Regions from separate parts of the Homo sapiens genome. Here regions 1, 2 and 4 are each linked to region 3. The links are contacts of gene promoters, found by promoter capture Hi-C in blood cells and fetal thymus (Javierre and others, 2016). All regions are on one chromosome and are shown on one strand. The core of a region is centred on a gene start or on the middle of the fragment in contact, and the rest is flanking DNA. Distances in the headings are between cores, read along the strand shown.

Region 1 (5,867 bases), core at 2,004-4,503, 440 kb before region 3:
TCTCAGGATCACATGCAATCACCTTGTTCCCAGGTGGCCACACCTGATTGCACAGACTGGGGAGGCCTGTCCAACAGGTTCATAGGAAAATGCATAGGGGTTTCATGGTCCCTCACCATTCACTTGCTGTCAGAGAAAATCGGCCCCCGCACATTGGCACACCTGTTCGCAAGCCCAGCCATGAAAGCTCACAGACACACAGTTGTATTCTTGTACCCATTTTGGGAATCAGAGGCTTCACATCTGCAGGCTTTGACTTCTCTCCCTTTCCCATCTCAGGCCAGAAATTGGGTGCAGCGCAGCGGTGGTATGGTTATTGTGATTATTGCCCTGGGGCGAATTCTGCAGAGGAGTGGGCAAAAGAATATGGAGGAACCAATTTATTAACCCCATAGAAGCCCCAAGGTTTCCAGTGCCTGTGGGACTCCATTCAGCCTGGACTCTGCAAGACTGGCTTCTCTCCCTCCATGTAAAGTCGAGCAGGGGGATGGGATTGTCTGGGTGGGAGATGGGCTGAAGAAACAGATCTTTGGAAGGCCTGGAGTCTTTGCTTGCACTAAATGAGCAGAACCTTCAGTTCCAGGGAGGTGCCCCTAGCCATCCCTGAGCCTTCCGCCCTGGGGTGGGTTGTACTGTCCCCTCCACACAGCAGCCTGATGTCCTGGCTTGTCTTGGGGTGTCACCTCCAGAAGAAGCCAAGCACAAACGTTCACAGAGATCCACTGAGCTCCTGAGCTGCCAAGGGACACCTGCATGGAGGTGCCAGGCCATGCGCTGGAGACAGCCCGTAAGTGAGAAAAACTCGCTTCCCTCCAGCCTCACTGTGCCCAGGCCGCTCTGTGCCCTGCGGCAAGCTGGTGGGGGGCGGGGGGAGGGCTTGTTAGTAAATGACCCAGAAGCGCCCCACCCCACACCCCACCACAAGGACTTGTCCGGGCCGGGCCGGGCTAGATGCCGAGATGTAATTCACCAGATTTGTGAAAAGACGAGAAATCTGCTCTCATTTTGAAGCGCAGCCCCGCCGGCATCCAGGAGGCCGAATATAAACCTCTTCCGGAGGGCAGGGACATCTTGCACCGTCGCCCTCCAAATCTGGCCCTCTAGGGTGTGGAAGGGCGCGGCAGGGGTGCAGGGAAAAACACACAGCCCGTAGCCATCTGTTTGGCTCTGACGAGTCCCCAGACTCGAGCCTCCAGTCAGCTCGGACTCCAGACCAGGGCTCCGCGAGGGGTGGTGCGACTCTAACCCCACGGTCGCCACAGCAGCTGGAGAATTCGGCCAAACCTGACTCTTTCTCCAGGGGCGAGGGCTCCGCCAGACCGCGTGGACAAGGAACCGGCCCCGCCGCGCTTTCCTGGACTGCGGAGGCGGCCTGAGTGGTGGTGTCCCCGTCCCTGGCAGAGAGGGGCTGTCTCTTGATTCCTGAGCTTCAGGGCCACATGTCTCAGGCGGGTTGAGCCTCGATGATGTCTGCCGTGGGGTTCGCTTGTGGACGATCCCTTCCTGGGACCCCAGACCCGGGCCACGGCCTCCAGGACGCCTGGGTCTTGCACCCCTTGCTTTTCCCGACGGGCTCCCGGAGTCTCATTTCTAGAATGAGGTGGGAGACCTCGTGACTACGCGGAGGCCGCCCCAGGGCTCCGAGGGCACCGCACAGGGCACCAGGCCCTTCCCAGCTCAACCCGGGCCCGTCGCGGTAGTGAATTGGCGCCTGACGATTGCGCGGCAGAGGCTGGCGAGCAGCGCTGGGCTGAAGCCGACCCGGCACCGCGCGGCGCCCGGATCCGGAGCTGCCAGCAGCAGAAGGGCAGGCGCTAGGAAAAGCGTGAAAAGGGCTGGGTCCTTTGGGTCAGGATTTGCCCTGCGACCGGAGGATGGGGCGCACGATTCCAAGGCGCGGACTTCGAAGGCGAGAACCTGGAAGGGGAAACACACACTCCCCCTGCCATCCCCCTGGAGTTCTCTTGCCCAGCTCGCAGCCTCCCTGAAGGATCGGGGCAAGGGCAAGGCCACGAGAGCTCAGGTGCTGTTAATTTCCGTTGAGGAGAAGCACCCTGGGGTCCCTGTCACTTGGAAATTCCCTGTGGCAGTGCTGTAAGCTTCATCACAGTCGGCCCTGCAACTCCCTCTGCACATCTTTGGAATCTCCAGGAGTTATGGGGCGGGGCGAGGAGCTAACCCAGCCCTGGCTCCTCCTCCCCAGGGAGCCGAAACTTCTATACTTCTCTGACTTTATGGTCCTTGGAGGCAGGGTAGGGGTTCAGGGGACTGATTCCTTTGGATTTCTGGGCGACTGGTCTGGCAAGTCAATAACCACCCCAGTTGTCCTGACAAACGGGTCTGCTTTGTGATCAGAGTCCATAAAATGGGCCTGTAGGAAACAGTGTCCCCTCCAACCAATACGGAGCCAGAAGCCCTCTCCTCTGTATAAGGTTTAGAGAGTGCTTCTCCACCCTGGACTGCAGGGAATACTCTCCTCCCTTGAGTCTTTGATTTTCTGCAGTCCCTCAGTGTGTGGAGTCTGAGTCCAGCTAACCCGAGAAGAAAAATGCACTGATTCCAGGGATATTCGGTAGTTTACAGGATCAATAGGAAGGCTGAGGAATTAAGGAACATCAGTTTCAGGAAACACAGGAATGCTTCGTTAAGGCACTGCTGCTAGCACCACATGCTGCTAGACTCCGGCATGAACATCACTGAGAGTAATTTCCCAACTTTTCCTCCATCTTCACTTCACTCCCTCAAGATTCAAAACTCATGGAGTATCATTTAACGACACTAAGAGTAGGACATGTGTCCAGGCACTAGTTGTCAGAGATGGGAGGGAAGAGCATAGTCCCTTAGACTTCCATATTAAAAGCTAAAACTGTTCCACCAATATTTACCCTGTTTGAGGACAGTCTCCCTATCAGGAAGTGTTCAGATGCTAGGTTAAAAAAGGGTGGGGGGACCCACTCGAGGGGACCCACCCCTTTGGCTGCCCAATATTCACATATGCCTTTCTTCCTAAATTTACAGGCTTTTCCTCCACAAAATGCTCCCACCTAACATGTTACTGTCACTCATGACAGAAAATATATTCAACTTTCCTGACAATCCAAAGCCTCATAGCTCTAAGTTCAATACCTTTGTTCTCTTCCTTCTCTAGTTCTGTTGGAATCTGGTCTCAATATTGTGCAACTTGTGGATTAGACTAAATTGTAAAGCTAATAATCATCACACATAATAATATAGTAGTGGCCAGGCATGGTGGCTCATGCTTGTAATCCCAGCACTTTGGGAGGCTGAGGCAGGCGGATCATTTGAGGACAGGAGTTCGAGACCAGCCTGGTGAACATGGTGAAATCCTGTCTCTACTTAAAATAAAAAAAAAAAATTAACCGAATGTGGTGGCAGTTGCCTGTAATCCCAGCTACTCGGGAGGCTGAGGCAGGAGAATTGCTTGAACCCAGGAGGCGGAGGTTGCAGTGAGCTGAGATCATGCCATTGCAATCCAGCCTGGGCAACAAGAGTGAAACTCCATCTCAAAAAAAAAATAGTAATAATAATAATAATAATAATACAATTACAAGGGAATAAGAATGGAAGAAAATGCATGAAGTTAAAATATAGACTGTCTAATATGACAACAGGTCAGGACGTAAAAACCATTGTCTTTTTTTTTGCATATTTCGTATTCATGACATTCCTCCTCCCTTTTCCATTCTGTTTCTTTTGCCTTCAGGCAGCACCTGGGCTGGTTTGGGTTCTTTATCCTGGAGAGAGCCAAGCCTTTGTTCCTGAGGGATCTGAGCCCTTGATGGTCCTGCCTAGAAAGGGCTGTCGTGGTCTTCCATTAACTTTTACCCCTGGACATAACAGCACTACAAGGGACCCCAAGGGAGCCCTGTGATTCCATGAATACTCCTTTTTGCCCCATTGTATAGGAAAACATTCTACTTGAACTTGCTACCGCTCTAGCCAATTCCATAGTCTCCTTTAACCTTGCTCATCCATTGACAGGAGCAACCAGAAGTGACCAGGTAAGAATTTATGCTCCCATTTCAGTGAAAACATTGTTTCTCTTGGTGGGAACTTTCTTCTCTTGGGGACTCTAACTCTAATATAGTAGAAACAAGAGTCACAGAAAGTGAGGGTGTCACTGGGGACTTGTAGAAGGTATTGCCCTCTCTTTTTGGGGTCATACAATCAGGCTATGGGGGAAATAGCAGCAAATATTAAGTACCAGCTCATAGCATATGTTTCATCCTGAAGTACTGCACCACACTACCGTAAAGGACAAACCAGGCTGTTCTAATAACACAGAATACAGTGGCTCAAACAAGATATAAATTATTTTTTCTCTTGCATCTAGGAAAGACAGATAGCTCTGCTCTGTGAAGGCATCGGGAGGCCCAGGCTAGTGAGGAAGCTTTGCCATTCTCCGCAGCCACCTTCCAAACTTGTGTCAATCCTTGACAGAGGAAGGAAAGGGGGCAGCAACTCCAAGGCAAGCTCTTTAAGAAGATGACTGCAAAGTTGTGCATATTTCACTTACATTCCTTTGAGAAGAGCTAGCTGCAAGGGAGGCTGGGAAATGTAGGCTCTAGGTGAATCTAGTGGATATTAGCCCATTGTTAAAACTGCAAAATGTATTCTTGTCAACAGCAATGTTGTGTGGAAAACTAGACAATTATAAGGCCTTGAATGAATGTATTAGCTGAAGCTTGACGCTCAGAAAAGGCATATACAAGCCTACCACCAGATACCTCATTGGTGCCGCTGGCGTTATGGTATAGAGGCACCAGTGAGGTATCTTGTGGTAAGTTTCTACACAGTAGGGGCCTTGAAGCTGATCCCAGTTGCTGGCAAATTGGTTAATTTTGCAGTAAGCTTAGACTTGGGAGATGTTGAGTTTATGCACAGCTTTCTTTCTTCTTGATCTTGGGCCCATTTATTTAAGAGCACATTGAGCAGGACTTGCAGTGCCCGGGAAGGAGACTGACTGAGATCCAGAGTAGGTTATCTTGTCCACTTGATTTTGAAAAACCATTTATTTATTTATTTTTTGAGATGAGGTCTCACTCTTCACCTAGGCTGGAGTGCAGTGGCAGGATCATGGCTCACTGCAGCCTCAACCTCCTGGGCTTAAGCAATCCTCCCACCTCAGCCTCCCAAGTAGCTGGGACTACAGTTGCACACCACCACACCCGCCTTTTTTTTCTGGTAGAGATAAAGTTTGCCATGTTGCCCCAACTCCTGGGCTCAAGTGATCTGCCCACCTTGGCCTCCCAAAGTGCTAGGATTACAAGCCTGAGCCACTGTGCCTGGCTGAAAAACCTTTTAAATCAGGTATTTTTGGTGATCATTTTCATAAAACACAAATATTTTTACAATCTATGTCCATCCCAAAAGATTATTCTTTATACTTTTTCCCACCATGTCCTTTACCCAGACCTGTGGCCTGCAGTGAACAGTCTACTAAAGCACTTTTTAGGGGTTCTGTTATTGCCTTGACCAAAGTATTTTTCAAGTTTTTTGAGAAGGAGACATCTTCTGGGATCCTTTCCAGAGACATTGTGGCTGGGTGAAGTGGCCCATGATAAATCCTCTCCAGTGTTCCTGTCTTCAGAAATTTTCAGCCAGGCATGGTGGCTCATGCCTGTAATCCCAGCACTTTGGGAAGTCGAGGTAGGTGGATCACAAGGTCAGGAGTTCAAGACCAGCCTGGCCAACATGGTGAAACCCCATCTCTACTAAAAATACAAAAATCTGCCTGGCATGGTGGTGCATATCTCTAATCCAATCTACTCGGGAGGCTGAGGCAGGAGAATTGCTTGAACCCAGGAGGCGGAGGTTGCAGTGAGCTGAGATCGCGCCACTGCACT
Region 2 (6,079 bases), core at 1,077-3,576, 350 kb before region 3:
TGGGGAGCAGGGAGGCAGCTGCTTCAAAATTCAGGCTGGGCTCCAAGCCTGCTCCTGGACCTGCCCTGCTTTTTCTGGCCACACCCAGCTCTTAGGACCTCAGCTGGCAGGAAGACGTGGGGCACCATCTGAGGGCAGGACACTCCTTTGGTCCCCTCCCTGATTCTCCCCTTCCCTACTTCTTTTGTGAGCTGAATTCCTTCAGAGCACTGTGACAAGGTGACCATACCACATGCACCAGCCTCCTCCAGGCACTGTAATCCTGCTTGGAAGGAGCGGGGAGTGCTTGCCCTTTGGAAGTACTGGGGGACATAGACAGACCACTGAGTGACAGAGACAGGAAGGGAGGAGAAGAGACAAGTTCCCAGAGATGCTCAAGTCCTGGGTGCCCACTCTCTGCAGCCTCTAGAACAGCCTTCTCTTTTGGTTCCAAGCTTTTGCTCCCCTCATCCAAGGGTTGGGATGATTTGTGTCCCTTCCTTTCCTGGCACCTCCTGCTCTGTCTCTAGTGCTCAACTCATTTCCTGGGGGAAACCTTCTCTGCCCTGTTCAGCTCCTCTGCGCTCCTTAGCACATTCCCCTGGATGTCACTGTCATATTGCCAAGAATGTGTTGCTTTGTCTGTCTGTCCTGCCTCTCTCTCTCCATCTGTTGTGAACTTGGGAAGGAAGGACCTGAATCACCTCTCCATGCCCCTATGCCAGCCCAGCATACACCAAGGGGTCCAAGCATTTGTTGAGTAAATAAACTAAATAAATAAACAAGGGACAAAAATGGAGCCAGACAGGGAACTTAGCCTGTGCCTCAGAGAGAGGACCAGGGGTAGGTGTATTGGTTTTGCCAGCTGCCTGCAGATGCGTGCGGTGCTCCTACTGCTCACACCAATATACTCAGAGGGGCCCAGAAGCCTCATTCTCTAATGCTTTTTGGCTATGGAGTGAGTTTCCTGGGTTGTGGACCCAGCTGTGGTGGTGTGGTCTGACTTAGTAATGAACTTCCTTCATTTGCTTTTTTTGTTTGTTTTTGAGATGAGGTCTCACTATGTCACCCAGGATGGAGTGCAGTAGCACAATCTGGGCTCACTGCAGCCTCGACCTGCTAGGCTCAAGTGATCCTCCCACCTCAGCCTCCCAAGTAGCTGGGACCAAAGGAGCATGCCACCAAGCCCAGCTAATTTTTGTATTTTTTGTAGGGATGGAGTTTCATGATGTTGCCCAGGCTGGATTTTTTTTTAAATAGGATTAAGGCCGGGCGCAGTGGCTGGGCCTGTAATCCCAGCACTTTGGGAGGTCGAAGAGGGCAGATCACTTGAGGTCAGCAGTTTGAGACCAGCCTGGTGAACATGGTGAAACCCTGTTTCTACTAAAAATACAAAAATTAGCCGGGTGTTATGGTATGCTCCTGTAGTCCCAGCTTCTCGGAGGTTGAGGCAGGAGAACTGCTTGAACCTGGGAGTTGGAGGTTGCAGTGAGCCGAGATCGCACCACTGCACTTTAGCCTGGGTGACAGAGCAAGACGCTGTCAAAAAAAAAAAAAAAAAAAAAAAAAGAAAGAAAGAAAGAAAAGAAAAGGAAAGGAAAGAAAGAAAATAGGATTGACCCCCCCATCATTCGTTGGGCCCAGAAGCAGAGAGGAAGAATGGACAGAAGATGGGAGGTGATGGGCAGGCAGGAGTGGCAGGAAACAGACACCCACACGCCACTCCAGTAGCCCAGGGGTCTGTGAAGAGGATAAAGGAACCTAAGTGAGCATGTGTGTGTGTGTTGGGGGGGGGGGCGCGGTGTGGGGGGAGAGTCTGGTTCTGTTCCTGATGGAGGTGGCATTTGAGTTGAACTTTGTAAAACCAGGAGCATGTAAATAGGTGCAGGAGCAGGGACCATCCTGGAGGCAAAGGGAACAGCCGAGCACAAGCCCGAAGATGCCACCCTAAGAGAGGTTCCAGAGTTCCCTATAGCTCCTCCCTCTGTTGTCCTGGCGGTGAGCTACTGGGTAAGGGTGAAACCCTTAGTCTCTTGTTTATCGGCAGCAGGTCTGCAGCCTAGAGCCAGGGGCTGCTGGACTCCTGGGATGGCTATTTACTTATTTATGGGGTGGGGTGAGGGGTGGGGATGGGATGAGAGAGGCTGCTTTCCTGGGCCTACAATTGGAGTTCCCTTCTCCTTGCCATCCCCAGAAACTCCAAGAGCTGACCCTCTGTCTTACTAACTCAAACGGCCCAGAAACATCAAAGTCTGACCAAAAACCGTTAATGGTAGTCAGCTCCCTCCCTTTCACAGAGGTCTCACTACTGTCGGGGGGCGCCGGGCGCAGGCCGGGCATGGGGCCTGAGCTTAGGCCAGGTGGAAAGGTGGAAGGACCTAGTGGGGACAGACGAAGAGACCGAGGAGCCGCCCGCCCGGCTAAATGGACACAGGAAAGGCCTGAGTCAGGCTTCTCATAATAAATAAACTGCACGTGAATAATTCAGCAGTCGCGCGGGGGCCGGTTGCATCAGCGCCGCCGCCGCCGCGCGGCGCCCAATTCCCCGCGGAGGGGAGTAGCCAATTAAGGCACTTGAAAAGGGAGTCGGGTGGAAGATCCCCCGCCCACCAGTATCCTGGATTTACCCAGGTCGAGTTCAGAGAGCCTCCCCGGTCCCAACCCCCTCGGGCCCCATGGGTCAGGGGGCCGCCTGCTGGGAAGTGCTACCTCAGCTAAGCCGCTCAGGTGTCCCGAGACTCCGGGCAAGGGAAGACAGGCGGCGAGACGGAGCCAGAATAAGGGATGCGGACGTCTGACCTGTGGAAAACCCAGCATCTGCAGTGCCCAGCCGCACAGGGAACGTGGGCGGCGTGGTTCCAAGCACAGTGAAGACGCCAGGCTCGGATCTGTGCTCAGAGCCGGGATCCCTCCGGGCTGCTTCGTCCTGGCCAGGACTTTCCTTGCCCTGAAGTGAGGCGCCAGGGAAGCTGCAGGGCCCTCCGCCCTCTCTGAACTCCCACGTACTTGGGCCTCTCCCAGCCTTTCTTGGACCTGTGGAAGCAATTCCTGCAGGACCAGACTCCCCTGTCTCCCCGCGGCCCCCTAGGTACACTCCGTAACTTCCGAAACCTTATTTCGTTTGAGCGAAACCCGGCCCCTTTGGCTCTTCCCACTTCCCACAAGTCCCTGGGTTCCCGATCCTGAGGGATTGCATTCATCCCATCTCACACCCACCAACGCTCAATCCCTCCAGTTCCTCCCCAGCCCCTTCACTTCCATTAATTAGGTCGACTCCCTTCCTTCGCCGCTCCCTCCTGTCCCCACTCAGCCTCCCTACACCTATGCGGCGAGCCTCGGGCCAAGACCTCCGCCCTGGCTCCGCCAGTCCTGCGGGGGCCGGCATGCACCAGACCTCAAAAGGGATCTTCACGGGAATTCCGCATAGCCAGATCCCAAGCCTCCAGGGAGGCCACCAGCCCTCCCCCATCTTCTTCTTCCTCCTCCGTCTCCTTTCCTCTTCCCTCCGCCTCTACGTATTTCTTTCTATTCGTTTCTTTTCGTTTGGTGAGGTGCCACCCGCCACAGCCCTGTCCCCTAGGGAGAGGCCTGGACTAACTTTGCCGTCCTCGTGGCCTTAGCCCGGACTGTGAGTCTCGAGCGGCTTCCGAGAGGCAGCTCGGGTGTCTTCGCAGAGACAGATGAGGTGGGCTGGCGATTCCCTAGCCTCAGATGGCTCTGCCACCAGCCAGCTCTGTGATCCTGGGTAAGTCTTTCAACCTCTCTGAGTCTTGACGTTGGTAAAAGGCAGGAGATTTAGAGAAGGTGTTGGGAGACTAAATCTTTTCATTCGTTTGAGAAAGGGAGTCGCCTGTGTTGGGACCTAAGGAGGAAGTGAGGTTCTTGAGAATTCTAGATCTGAAATGGCCGTTTGTTTTAACGAGTATTTTGGGAGCAGCTGATAACTTTTTATTTTTATTTTTATTTTTTACAGCCGATGGGGTGCCAGGCATTAGAAACCTTCCCTCCAATCCTCACCATGTCTCCATTTTGCCAAAGAAGAAACTGAGGTTAAGGTCGCGATGCTCTGGCCAGCATCACAGGTGGGATTCGAACGCAGATGGGGTTTGGAGCGGCTCTTGTGTTTAAGCCACACAGTCTGACGTTAGACGGGTGAATCCAGCCCTCGCAGGGCCTGGAGTGACCTAAGCCGAGAGGAGCTGGGCTGAATCTCCAGGCGTTCCTTTCTTTCTGCCCTAGGAAAGCTTTGAAATTCTTATTTTCAGGTAAACGATTTTGGCAGTGCCCGGAGAAAGATAGAAGTAAGACCTAAAGAGGAACTTTCCGCATGTTATGGGAGAGCCCCTGGGGCGAGGAGGCGAGGGCAGCCTTCCCCAGGCCAAGGGAGCAGCCATCGCTCTTGGATCTGTTTTTCCTCAAGCGTCTGTCCTGTGGGGCCTAGTCCCCAAGCGGCAGTCCTGGACCTAACGGGAGAAGGGGCTGGGGGAAGAGGGCGCACCCCCAGCCCGGGACCCACAGCAGCCCTAGCCAGTCCCCCACTCTCTCCCTCTGTAGGGGCCTCTCTCTGAGATCGGGTCCTCCTCCTGCAGGGCAGCAGAGTGGAAGCCAGGGCCTGGGACCCTCTGGCTGGGCAAGGAGGGACTGGAGTCCGGCTCCCGGTGACCCCGTCCCCAGTGCCAGCGGTGGGGTCGCCTGTGGCGGCCCGGACAGGCCACGGGTCCCTCTCCCCAAGTCCCATTACGTTGTATTTATGTTTCATTTTATAGTTTTTTTTTCCTCCTCCCTTATTATTGTCTCACTCTGGGGGAGGCAAAGGATATAATATATTCATCTTTATTATACCAAATCTGTGTGAAGCATTTAATAAAACGCTGTTTCCACACAGCCAGGGATATTAGTGTGAGCTATCCTTAAGTTAATGCTCCTGGACTGAGGGCGCCGCTGCCACAGCGCCTGCTGCCGGCGGGTCGCGGGAAGCGTAGGCCCTGGCCGCCGCGCTCCCCGCGCGGGTCCAACGCCCTGGGTGCCCTTCTCGCCTGCGCCTTGAAGCCCCCACGCCCATCCTAGCGCGTCTCTCTGTGACCTCTCGGCCGCCAGCCTGGGAGGAGGGGTTTGGAAGAGCCGAATTCAAGCACCCTTCCTCTCCCCTGCCACACCCTGCATTTCGAATCCGCTGTGGGCCTTGGCTTGCATCTATGAAAATGGGAAGAATTCCATCACTGCCTCCCTCTCAGGGATCTTGAGAGGCCGAAGATGCCTTGAAGGTGGACAGGATTTTTTAAACAGGAAAGAAAAAATCGAGAATTTGTAAGGTCAGGATCAATGAGGGCCAGAGAGAAATAGAGAGGCTGCAGGAGTGGTTTCAGGCAACACAGAGCGAGCTGGACCCCAGGCGAGCAGACAGGGTGCAACTCCAGTTTGGGCAGAACCCAGGAGGTTTCGGCATGCCTGGGCCTCACCCCAGCCCACGAAGACAGCTGAACCTAGTCAGGATCTCGGCCTGTCACAGTTGGCCCTCTCATAATCCTCCCTCTAGGTAGGAAAATAGTCTTTTTAAGTCCAGTTTTACAGCTAGCAAACTGAGGCTCACAAAGATCACGTGGCTTGTTTGAGGTGAACAAACTAGGAAGTAGTGTAGCTGGTCACACTGTCTTCCAGACTCCATGCCCCTCCCCGCCCCCATTCTCCAGGGTTTTTCTGTAAACCTTACATTCTGCCTTCTACACACGCGCGCGCGCACACACACACACACACACACACACACACACATCCCTACCTGGAGATGCCCATGGGAAGGAGAAACACCCTCATTACTTTCTATATCCAGGCCCACTGCTCAGTGTCTTTCAGAGCCCACCACCTGGCTTCTTATAGGGCCCAGATCTGGGCACACCATTCTTACTTAGGCTGCTTGTACCTGTGCTGTAGGGGAGAGGGAGTTGGCTGTAACCAGGCAAAGCCAGGCAGAAGGAGTCATGCAGGACAGGCTTGAAGTGGGCAGGTGAGTCTCCCTGGCTAGAATCCATACTCTCCTAGGAATCTCAGTCTTCCTCTGCCCCCATCACCCCATCCCTGGGAGTGGGGGCTGCACAAGCTCAAC
Region 3 (6,028 bases), core at 2,629-5,128:
AAAAATTCAAAAGTAGAGAGATCCATATAACCCCCAAGTATCGTACATCTCCCAGCTTCAACAACTATCAAGATTTTGCCAATCTGCTTTCATCAATTTTCCTTTTTTTTCTTTTGTGCAAGTCCTAGACCCCATAAAATCTTCACCACTGTACCTGAACCCCACTGGGGTTACTAACCACTGGCCAGTAAAGACCCCTCCTCCCACTCTAGCCCCTGGGTACCTGGTACGAGGTGACAGGCTTATGGAAGCTCTTGAGGGCATTGATGGCCTTGGCATAGCCCAGGGCCCTCCACTTGTCTCCCTGAACACTGTAGGCTTTGGCCAGAACTTCCAGCTTCTCTGTGATATGGAGGTTGTGATTGGTCGCCTTCTGGCTTGAGGGCTGTGCACAGACCCACTTATCCAGGACAGCAGGGGCTGGGCTAGGCTCACAATCTCCCTCAAGGGAGGTGGGGTAGTGGCCACTGATGAGGGCTTCCAGATCAGCTGCACTAACCTGGGTTTCTTCCCCATCACTGGCTTCATCATCAGAGATGGGCTTGGGATAGAGAAGAAAAGAAAACAATAAATTCTTGTTCTCCAAGAGAAGGGATCCTTAAAGGTGGGGGTCATCTTCTTTGTGCGGGGGGAGGGTCTTCTAGTCAGACCTAAGAATGAGGCGGGGCCTTCTGCATCAGACTTGGATCTCCTTGGGTGTGAGGCCACGTTCCCTTTGGCTCCACGCAGTGCCTAGCCCTAGGATCCCCAGTGGTATGTGTTAGATATGGCCTAGATAAATGCAGCAGTGATGAGTGTTGGGAAGAGCTAAATGGCTTCACAATAGAGCCCTCCTCTCTCAGGGGCCTGGGACTTTCTGAACAGCCACCAGGCCCACCCCATTTCTGTGATCTGCTTCCTAGGGGAAGGGAGTTCTGAGGGATGGGAGGCTCCTGACCTGGGCTTGGGTGTTTGGTGCCTCTTTTGCCTTTTGGGGAGGAGACACAGGCCTGGTGGGAGGAGGAGGAGGAGAAAGGGCTGTCTGAAGCAGGGCCTCATGGGTGCCAGGAGGAATAGAAGCATCCTGCTCTGCCTTGCTGGGCTGTGGATGGTCCAAGTACCTGTGGGGATGGTGATGGGAGGTTAAGACACCAAAGGTCTCACCCTGTATCTGTCCCCAGTCCTTCTGTACTCTGAAATACTTGGTTTCCCAGTGTGTCCAATTAAGAAAACGAGTTTTTTGAGGTTTTTGGAGTTTCTCTTGAGACAGGGTCTTGCTCTGTCACCCAGGCTGGAGTACAGTGGTACGATCAAGGCTCACTGCAGCCTTAACCTCCCTGGCTCAATCAATCCTCCCACCTAAACCTCTTATAGCTGGGACTACAGGCACACCCCACCATGCCTGGCTAATTTTTTAATTAATGATAGTTATTTTTAATAATTCAAGAAAAGAGCTCAAGATGCTACTAGAAAACATTTGAAAAAAAGACTGGGATCAGCCCACCTACTGGGGATGAAGATGCTGAATCCAGCTACATCCACCAGCCTCCTCTCCTGAAGGCACAAGCTCAGCCAGGCTGACTTCACCAGCTGAGCACCCGGGGGCAGCTGGGGTAGTCTGAGAAGGCGGAGGGCTCGCTCATAGTCCATGCCTTCATCCACCACAATGTGAGTGACACCTGGGCCCTGGGCAGGGCATAGCTGGCCGCCATGCTGAACAATCTGCTTCTCAAAGAGTTCTGCCCGGGCTCGTCCAATGCCAGTGCGCACAACATGGGCCCGAAGGGAGCTCAGCCACTCTGTGGAAGGAACATCCAGATGACTACTGTTGTAACTTTTTAATTTTTATCTGCCACCCCCTGGCCACGACATAACTTCTAACATGATCTGAATGACGTGTTCACAGTCCCCTACCCTGAAAATAAGCATTTCCCTTCCATCCAGACAGCTTTCCTTCTACATATAGCAAATTTTCTCACAGGCCAGCACTTGAATGTAAGGGACAAGGATTTTCATACGTCCTGTTCCTTGGTGCAATCTAGAAGTGTCTGGCACATTGTAAGTAACCTGTAAATATTTGTTTAATGAATGCCTCCTCCCTTCTTACTTTGTTTTTTGTTTGTTTGTTTTGTTTTCTTTTGTTTTGTTTTTGTTTGGAGACAGTCTCACTCTGTCGCCCAGGCTGGAGTACAGTGGCATCGTCTTGGCTCACTGCAACCTCCATCTCCCGAGTTCAAGCGATTCTCATGCCTCAGCCTCCCGAGTAGCTGGGATTACCGGCGTGTGCCACCATGCCTGGCTAATTTTTTGTATTTTTAGTAGAGACAGGGTTTCGCCATGTTGCCCAAGCTGGTCTCGAACTCCTGAGCACAGGTGATCTGCCTGCCTCGGCCTCCCAAAGTGCTGAGATTACAGGCAAGAGCCACCGCGCCCAGCCTCTCTCCATACTTTGAATCCTTTATCATTTATTCTTTCAACAAAGCGCGTTTCTTGCCCTTACAGTCTGACAGACCCGACAACCCTGCCTCCAAAGCCTCTGCCATTTATTTGCCAATTTGGCTGCAAAACAACTAACAACAAGCCTGGGTAATGGAGGGGGGTTTCTGTCCCAGTCCTCAGGGCAAAAATTATACTGGTCATTCCCTGAGGGCCCAGGGAGTCTTTTCTGATGGATAGAGGTCTTCGGGTAGAAAAGAAGGTAACACAGCAAATAGCCTGTCCAAGACCCAGGACCAAGCTTAGCACAAGGTAGATACAAACAGACCTGCAGGCCCTGGACAGGCAGAGTCAGCTCCAATATCTGATTCTGGACATAAACAACGTAGGGCTGAAGCACATGAAGGCTGTGGGTTCAAGCACACGAGGGTTCTGAGACTGGGTCAGCTCACCTTCTGCTTCTTCTCCCTCTTCCCTCCTAGGAATCTTTGCAAGTACTTTTGATGATGCATCAGCATGAATTTTCTGCCGCTTGGGAAATGCCTTCAAGATACCCCTGGGATCCATTGAAGTATGGCTGGATCCCGGCCTATTGGAGCGTTGGTCAGGGCTGCTGCACGTGGAAATCCAGAATTGAGGCCCTCCAACCCCTTTGCCTATGGAGGTAGGGTCTTTCCTGACCAGGCTTTGGGGGTAGCAGCCCAGTTTGGGGAAGCGGGTCGGGGGAGGGGGTCTCTTCAAACCCGGTTAAACTTCAGTGGTTTAGCCTAGCTTCACACTCCCCAGCCTTTCGAAGTTGGAGTATTACGGGAAATGAGGGGAAGGCTGGTGCCATCGGGGGTACTTTTGAGGAGTAGGAAACGACACCATTCCTCAGAGGGGTTGCGCTAAAGATTCAGCACAGCCCTGCTGCGGCCCACTTCGAAGGGCTTTACCAAATGGGATGCTGGGCTAGGAAATGGAGCTTTAGGGGATGGAGCGGAGCCTGGGGAGGACCTGCACATAAACCCCACATACTATTTCTCTACCTCCAACACAGACTCGCAGAGGAAGGAGGAGGACTTTCGGGGGTGAGTGGGAACGCCCTGCACCTGTCCTGGTCTCAGCCTCTCGACATGGGGGTGCTCAGCGCCGCAGCTGCGGGGAGATGGGGCACGGCCGCAGCAGGTGTGGGGAGCCCTCCGGGAATGGAGGAGTCTCGCAGCTGCGGGTGAAGTCCCGGGCAGGTGCGGTGTACTCGCCGTGTACGCAGCTGGCGCAGGCCAGGGAATCCCAGCTCGGGGCTAGAAGAAAGCTGGAGTGCCCGACCCCGGCCCCAAGAGTCTCTCCAACCCCCAGAGTCGGTCCCCGGGTGGGGTCGACTACTGGCCAAGCTAGTCACCCGGGGGTGGGCAGGAATAGACCACTTACCAGCAGAGCCAATGAGAGCGGACGAAGGGGGGAAGGAGGGCAAATGGCCAGAATAGCTTCCGAGTCAGCCGGAAGTGACCCTCTGGAACGGTTGCCATGGCAGCGGCTGGGCGTGCTGCTTAGCAGGGGAAAGATGGCGGTGACGGGCTGGTTGGAGAGTCTGCGGACAGCCCAGAAGACTGCGCTGCTGCAGGACGGTAACTCGAGGGTCCCCACGGGCTCCTTCGTTTTTTTCCCTCAGGGTCCGGCCCTCCGGGAAGGGCCTCAGGGCCTGGGTCGGCAGAGCTGGAAGGGTCTCGGCGGTCAGCCGGGCCAGGTCCTGCATTTGCAGATGAGGAGACTGAGGTTCACAGAGATGACATGACTGGAACACATGTCTCCGGACACCCCTTAGATTCCTCTACACCATCTCGCTCCGCTCTGATTTCTGTTGCTAATATAGTAATTTCTTTTACATTCATTATCTCATTTGCTCCTCACCACTGTCCTGAGAGGCTAATTTTCACCCCGTTTTACAGAAGAGGAAACTGAAATCCAAGAATGTTTTAGACTTTAGAGAGGAGAGAGGCCTGGGCTCTAGTTCCGACTGTGCCATTAATTCACCACGGGCGCTTCAGTCGGCTCCTTTACTTGTTTGGGCCTCACTTTCCTCATCTATAAAATGAAGTGGATGGACTACCATTGTTATCTCTGAGGTCCTTTCCAGCTGTAATATTTTTGTTAAGTGAACTTCTAAATATTTTCTGTGTCTTTAGGGGAGCTAGAGCAAGAACCAAGGGCTGTGCCTGGAAGAAGTGGGCACAGGGGCATGGATACCTAACTTTTCCCCACCCTAGGATTGGCCGATGCCGGCCCCTTTGTGCACTTGGGTCCTTTCTGGACCCACTGGGTAGCCAGGATGAATTGCGTCTGAAGTTCCTGAGGCTTTCAAGATAACAACTGGTGACTCATGTTCACAGGCAGGGGCCAATCAGGGAAGCCTGGAGTTTGTGGAAATTAAAATCATTTACTCGTTCGTGCAACATTTAGGAAGACTTTTACTATGTGCCAAGCTCTAAACTAGAACAGAAAGAAAAAGATATGTTGTCCCAGGACTCAGAGTGGTTGGGAAAAACATGTACTTAAATAATAAGAAGCGTTAAATAGAGGTTGTAGTCTTGTATAAAATGGTAGGAAAGAGTGAAGGTGTAAGTGACATCTCTTTGGAGGAAGACCCAACAGAAGTGATGATGTTTCTGGGTCCTAAAGAATTAATAAGGTCAGGCACAGTGGCTCACGCCCGTAATTCCAGCACTCTGGGAGGCCAAAGTGGGCGGATCATTTGAGCTCAGGAGTTCGAGACCAGCTTGGGCAACATGGCCAAACCTCATCTCTACAAAAAATACGGAAATTATGGCCGGATGTGGTGGTTCACGCCTGTAATCCCAGCATGTTGGGAGGCCGAGTGGGCGGATCCCTTGAGGCCAGGAGTTCGAGACCAGCCTAGCCAACATGATGAAACCACCCCATCGCTACTAAAAATACAAAAAAATTAGCCAGGTGTGGTGGTGCGCACCCGTAATTCCAGCTACTCTGGAGGCTGAGGCAGGAGAATCGCTTGAACCCGGGAGATGGAGGTTGCAGTGAACTGAGATCACACCACTGCATTCCAGCCTGGGTGACAGAGTGAGTGAGACTGTGTCTCAGACAAAAAAATAAATAAGCCGTGCATCATGGCACATGCCTGTAGTCCCAGCTACTTGTGGTGGCTGAGGCCAGAGGATCGCTTGAGCCAGCGAGGTAGACGCAGCAGTGAGCCGAGATCATGCCAGTGCACTCCAGCTTGGGCGACAGAGCGAGACCCTGTCTCAAAAAAACTGGAAAAAAAAAAAAAAAAAAGAATTAATAGGCGTTTGCTGAGTGAAGAAGAGGGGATAGCTATTCAAAGAACAACTCACATATAAGGACCCTATGTGAAGGTGTGAAGGTACGTGCCTGATTACTAGAGGAATAACAAAATGTTTAGTAATGTTAAAGCAGTCACTCAGTCAGAACAAACCACCTATAACTATGTCAGGTACTATTCTAGGTGCCAGGATGGAAGCGAGAATAAAAAGGTCCCTTTTCTCAAGGAGCAATGAGGGGAAGTTGTGGAAAATGAAGAGAGATGACAGATAAGTTGGGACATATTGTGATAGATCTCTTATGCCTTGCTAAAGATTTA
Region 4 (6,168 bases), core at 953-3,452, 390 kb before region 3:
TCAGACCGGCTGATCAGCTCCTTAACGGGGATTTTACATACAGGCCATAGGAGGCGGAGGGTCTTTCTTGACCCTAAAGTCACTAGTTGAGGTGACAGAATCCTCGAGTTGTCAGTCTTCCCATGTCCCACACGAAGGTCCAACATGAGGAAATGAGGCCGGCACAGCGAAAGGAGCCGAGCCCCAGTGACATGGTTGGTGTTCTGGACCCAGTTGTTCCAGAAGCCCTCCCTGCTCTGTTCGTATCACTTATGGGAGCTAAGCCATTTCTGCCTTTCCCCTTGGGCTACTTTGAGTTAAACTTCTGTCTCTTCTTTAAAGGCCGGGGAGAGGGCACTGATTAATGTGCTGTGTGAGCCTCCTTCTCCTCCAGTCACGGTCGGTGTGAGCAGGAGTGGATACTTGACCCAAAGGGGAACCAAGACATAGGGCAGAATCAACCTCTCTCTCTCGCCCTCTTCCCCTCTTTATTATTATTATTATTATTATTTAGATGGATTCTTGCTCTGTCACTCAGGCTGGAGTGCAGTGGCATGATCTCAGCTCACTGCAACCTCCACCTCCTGGGTTCAAGCGATTTTCTTCCCTCAGCCTCCCGAGTAGCTGGGATTACAGGTGCCTGCCACCACGCCTGGCTAGTTTTTGTATTTTTAGTAGAGATGGGGTTTCACCGTGTTGGACAGGCTGGTCTCGAACTCCTGACCTCAGGTGATCTGCCCATCTCGGCCTCCCAAAGTGCTAGGATTACAGGCATGAGCCACCACGCCCGGCCTCTCCCTCATATTTCAACTGAGAGGGAGGGATTACAGTCTGATGGCTGGAACTGAAGGTTGTATAGATTCAGGACTAGGACAACAATTTGGTTGGGGACTCACTAGTGGAAAAAAAGAAGAAAGCTAGCCTGCTGAGATAGATAGGAGAGACGAGAACCATATGAGCAAATTGAGAGAGAGAGAGAGACAGAATTTTCCTAATTCCTGAGCCCCAGTGTGCTTCCTGCCCTTCTTTCTGTGACATTCTCTGAACCCGTATAATATACCCTGTCTTAGGCTTTTCTGGAGGTATAACTGATAGAAACCCACCCAGGCTAACTTACGCAAAAAGGGTAGTCTATTTTTTTTTTTTGAGATTGAGTTTAGCTCTTGTCACCCAGAGTGGGGTGCAGTGGCACAATCTCAGCTCACTGCAACCTCCGCTTCCCAGGTTCAAGAGATTCTCCTGCCTCAGCCTCCCGAGTAGCTGGGATTACAGGCACCTGCTGCCACATCTGGCTAATTTTTATATTTTTAGTAGAGACGGGGTTTCACCATGTTGTCCAGGCTGGTCTTGAACTCCTGACCTTAGGTGATCCACCCGCCTCAGCCTCTCAAAGTGCTGGGATTACAGGCATGAGCCACCACACCCGGCTTTAAAAGGGTAGTCCTTATAAGGATGGCAGGTGTCTCCTGGAACCCTGGGACAGGTGGCACACCTGGGTCTCAGGATGACCTGAAAGCCAGGCAGACCTTCTCTAAATGGGCCTATGGTCTCAAGTATCTTATTTGAGACCAATTTCCTTCAATTCTCCATGTGCATGAGGCTAAACATGGCTGTCAATAGCCCCAGATTATGCAAGTTCAAGTGGCCACAGAGATGTCCGGCCACAGAGATGTCTAGCCCTTGTCCGAATGCCCAGGAGAAAGACTCTGGCAGGCCCAGTCTGGGTCAGTACCTACCTGCTCCAACCAGCCAGGTCTGGTGGAGTGGGGGTCCCATTGTCTGCTACAGCCCACCTCCAGGGAAGGGTCAAAGAGGAGTCCTCAAGGAAGACATATAAATGGCAAACAGGCGTATGAAAAGGTATTCAGTCACTGATCATCAGAGAAATGCAAATCAAAACTATAACGTGATATCATCTCACCCCAGTGAAAATGGCTTTTATCCAAAAGACAGGCAATAACAAATGCTGACGAGGATGTGGAGAAAAGGGAACCCTTGTATGCTGTTGGTTGGAATGTAAAGTAATACAACCACTATGGAGAACAGTTTGGAAGTTCCTCAAAAAACTAAAAATAGAGCTACCATATGACACAGCAATCCCACTGCTGGGTATATACCCAAAAGAAAGAAAATCAGCTTATCAAAGAGATATCTTCACTGCCATGTTTATTGCAGTACTATTCACAATAGCCAGGATTTGGAAACAACCTAAGTGTCCATCAACAGACAAATAGATAAAGAAAATGTGGTACTTATACACAGCGGAGTACTATTCAGCCATGAAAAAGAATGAGATCCTGTTGGCTGGGCGCAGTGGCTCATGCCTGTAATCCTAGCATTTTGGGAGGCTGAGGCGGGCAGATCACTTGAGGTCAGGAGTTTGAGACCAGCCTCGTCAATACAGTGAAACCCTGTCTCTACTGAAAATACAAAAATTAGCCAGACATGGTCGCATGCACTTGTAATCCCAGCTACTTGGGAGGCTGAGGCAGGAGTATCACTTGAACCTGGGAGGTGGAGGTTGCAGTGAGCTGAGATCATGACACTGCAATTCAGCCTGAATGACAGAGCAACACTCCATCTCAAAAAAAAAAAAAAAAAGATCCTGTCATTTGCAACAACATGGATGGAACTGGTGATCATTATGTTAGGTGAAATAAGCCAGGCACAGAAAGACAAACTTCTGGCCAGACGTGGTGGCTCACACCTGTATTCCTAGAACTTCAGGAGGCCGAGGCGGGCAGATCACTTGAGGACAGAAGTTCAAAACCAGCCTGGCCAACATGGTGAAACCCCGTCTCTATTAAAAATACAAAAAATTAACCGGGCGTGGTGGTGCATGCCTATAGTCCCAGCTACTTGGGAGGCTGAGGCAGGAAAATCACTTGAACCTGAGAGGCAGAGGTTACAGTGAGCCGAGATTGTGCCACTGCACTCCAGCCTGGGCAACAGAGCGAGACTCCATCTCACAAAAAAAAAAAAAAAGACAAACTTCTCATCTTCTCACTTATTTGTGGGAGCTAAAAATTAAAACAATTGAACTCATGGAGACAGACAGTGGAGCAATAGTCACCAGAGGCTGGGAAGAGTAGTGGTTGAGGGAGGCAGGAAATGATTAATGGGTACAAAAACATATTAGTTATAATAGAAAGAATGACTAAGACCTAGTATTTGATAGCACAACAGAGTGACTACAGTCAACAATAATTTATTATACACTTAAAAAACTAAAAGAATATAAGTGGATTATTTATAAGACAAAGAAAAGATAAATGCTTGAGGTGATGGATACCCCATTTACCCTAATGTAATTATTACCCATTGTATGCCTGTGTCAAAATACCTCATGTACCCTGTAAATATATACACCCACTAGGTACCCACAAAAATTGAAAATAAAAATCTTTTTCTAAAAAGAGGAATCCTCTGCAGCTGTTATATCAAGCTACTTTGGGTAGGATCCCATTCCCTGCCACTGAACAGAGCTGACTGAAGCAATTGCCGGTAGCTTTGGGGTACCTGTTGCCCCTCTCTCTGTTGGAATTGTGTGCCTCAAGAGTATCTCCAGCTGGATAGAAGGGCCAATTCTTCTCAGAGGCCGAGAATATTCTTCCACGCTGTATCCCCTGCAAACAACTAGAATTCACGGTGATGCCAACCGACTGTCCCTCTCTTCACCCACCTCCTGCCACCATTGCTGAGAGAGAATTGGCCAGTGTCACAGTATCTGACCCACCATGCATTCTGTGGAGGGTGGCAAAGAATCCTACGGAAAGTTCCAAGGGCTGACTCCTATCTGACAGATGTATGACGTTGATCGCAACTTATCCTTTCAGGGAAGACGAATATCAATATTTCACCAGGCCTGGACAATCCTGGAACCCTGCACGCTTGACACTGAAGGCAGAATTCTGGAAGTTGAACATAGTGCTACAGATTTCACTGGGGCTGGAAGGTCGTGCTGCAGAGGTGGGCGGGTCAGTGAGAGTCTTAGGCACCTCTTCACCTTCTGCACTTAGGACTCAAAAGACATGGAGTCCACCCAGAGGCCAGAGTTTTCTTTCTTGAGCATCACGTCTGCTTGGCAGAGCCCCTGTGGAATCTCTCTAAGTTCTCATTCCTCCTCATTTGGCAACAGGCATTCCTAGATCTGGGGTGGGGACAGGGGCTGCCTCACAGAGCACAGGCAGCTTGAAGGCTAAAAGTGGGAAAGACGGGATGTTTCCCATTCAATGTTGCTATGCTAAAATGAAAGGATGTCTGGCTTGTTAAAGCAGAGGCACATATATATACTACCTGTATTGAACAGGTGTTTGGGTGTTTGTCCCTTTCAAATCTCATGTTTAAATGTAATCCCCAGGCCGGGCATGGTGGCTCATGCCTGTAATCCCAGCACTTTGGGAGGCCGAGGCGGGCAGATCACTTGAGCTCAGGAGTTCAAGACCAGCCTGGCCAACATGGTGAAATCCCATCTACTAAAAATGTAAAAATTAGCCAGGCATGGTGGCTTTCATGCGCGCCCATGTGAAGAGACCACCAAACAGGCTTTGTGTGAGCAATAAAACTTTTAATCACCTGGGTGCAGGCGGGCTGAGTCTGAAAAGGGAGTCAGCGAAGGGAGACAGGGGTGGGGCCGTTTTATAAGATTTGGGTAGGTAAAGGAAAATTACAGTCAAAGGGGGTTTGCTCTCTGGCGGGCAGGAGTGGGGGTCGCAAAATGCTCAGTAGGGGAGTTTTTGAGCCAGGATGAGCCAGGAAAAGGACTTTCACAAGGTAATGTCATCACCTAAGGCAAGGACCGGCCATTTTCACTTATTTTTGTGGTGGAATGTCATCAGTTAAGGCAGGGCAGGGTATTTTCACTTCTTTTGTGATTCTTCAGTTACTTCAGGCCATCTGGGCGTATACATGCAAGTCACGGGGGATGCCACGGCTTGGCTTGGGCTCAGAGGCCTAACAGTGGCACACGCCTGTAGTCTCAGCTACTTGGGAGGTTGAGGCAGGAGAATTGCTTGAGCCCGGGAGGCAGAGGTTGCAGTGAGCCAAGATTGTGCCACTGCACTTTAGCCTGCGCAACAGAGCTAGACTCCATCTCAAAAAGTAAATGAATAAAAGTAAGTAAGTAAATGTAATCCCCAGTGTTGGAGGTGGGGCCTGGTGAGAGGTGTTTGGGTCATGGGGGCGGATCCTTCATGAATAGCTTGGTGCTGTCCTCACAATAATGAGTGAGTTCTCACTCTGAGTTCACGTGAGATCTGGTTGTTGAAAAGGGTATGGTGGCCAGGCACAGTGGCTCACATTTTTAATCCCAGCACTTTGGGAGGCCAAGGCAGGAGGATGACTTGAGCCTAGGAGTTTGAGACCAGCCTGGGCAACATGGCAAGACTCCGTCTCTGTAAAAAATGAAAAAATTACTGGTCATGGTGGTGTTAGCCTGTGGTCCCAGCTACTCAGGAGGCTGATGGGGGAGGATCACTTGAGTCTGGAAGGTGGAGACTGCAGTGAGGTATGACTGTGCCACTGTACTCCAGCCTGGGGACAGCCCTGTCTCAGAAAAAAAAAGGGGTGTGTGTGGCACCCACTCCGTCCCCCACTGACTTTCTCACCATGTGATAGGCCAGCCTCCTATTCTCCTTCTGCCGTGATTAGAAGCTTCCTGAGGCCTCACCAGAAGCTGAGCAGATATTGGTGCCATGCTTCTTGCACAGCCTGCAGAACCATGAACAATTAAATGTCTTTTCTTCATAAGTTACCCAGCCTCAGATATTTCTTTATATCAATACAAGAACAGACTAACACAAAGGGATAATTCAGAATTTAAAATGAATACAAAAAAAATACAAACAGTAAGCCTTCTTCATACCTGAGTAGTGTCTCCTCACACATTCAGCACAGCCCTGTTCCCTTCCCCAGCACTTTTTTTTTTTTTTTTTTGAGACAGAATGTCACTTTGTTGCCCAGGCTGGAGTGCAGTGGCACCATCACAGCTCACTGCAGCCTTGACTTCCTGGGCTCTAATCATCCTCCCACCTCAGCCTCCCAGGTAGCTGGGACTACAGGTGTGTGTGTGCCATCATGCCAAGCTAATTTTTTATTTTTTGTAGAGAAGAGGTCTCACCATGTTGCCCAGTCTGGTCTCCAGCTCTTGGGCTCAAGTCATCCTCCCACCTCTGCCTCACAAACTGCTGG

The links. Contacts are between HindIII fragments. The CHiCAGO score rates a contact against its expected background, and 5 or more counts as called.
Region 1: a fragment that was not itself captured here is called in contact with the fragment with the promoter of POLL in region 3 in 1 of 17 cell types (endothelial precursors); the score reaches 7.3 in endothelial precursors.
Region 2: a fragment that was not itself captured here is called in contact with the fragment with the promoter of POLL in region 3 in 2 of 17 cell types (erythroblasts and endothelial precursors); the score reaches 5.8 in erythroblasts.
Region 4: a fragment that was not itself captured here is called in contact with the fragment with the promoter of POLL in region 3 in 2 of 17 cell types (endothelial precursors and neutrophils); the score reaches 5.7 in endothelial precursors.

Annotation. Positions count from the first base shown.
Region 1 is chr10:101,145,025-101,150,891 of GRCh38, forward strand. No RefSeq gene overlaps it. Among named protein-coding and RNA genes, the nearest start is that of TLX1, 17 kb to the left of the region's middle. The HindIII fragment of the contact is 2,312 bases long and covers 2,098-4,409 here.
Region 2 is chr10:101,233,987-101,240,065 of GRCh38, forward strand. LBX1-AS1 (LBX1 antisense RNA 1) reads left to right here. Exons shown (of 3, transcript NR_029380.1): 3 at 3,953-4,873. Among named protein-coding and RNA genes, the nearest start is that of LBX1-AS1, 7.4 kb to the left of the region's middle. RefSeq lists an enhancer at 2,052-2,974. The HindIII fragment of the contact is 3,789 bases long and covers 433-4,221 here.
Region 3 is chr10:101,584,379-101,590,406 of GRCh38, forward strand. It overlaps POLL (DNA polymerase lambda), which reads right to left and starts at 3,879. Exons shown (of 9, transcript NM_001174084.2): 1 at 3,444-3,879; 2 at 2,868-3,028; 3 at 1,484-1,778; 4 at 938-1,100; 5 at 224-541. The coding sequence starts at 2,982. DPCD (deleted in primary ciliary dyskinesia homolog (mouse)) reads left to right here and starts at 3,943. Exons shown (of 6, transcript NM_015448.3): 1 at 3,943-4,022. The coding sequence starts at 3,959. RefSeq lists enhancers at 3,519-3,798, 3,899-4,228. The HindIII fragment of the contact is 7,368 bases long and covers 2,715-6,028 here.
Region 4 is chr10:101,196,514-101,202,681 of GRCh38, forward strand. No RefSeq gene overlaps it. Among named protein-coding and RNA genes, the nearest start is that of LINC01514, 23 kb to the left of the region's middle. The HindIII fragment of the contact is 6,853 bases long and covers 1-5,629 here.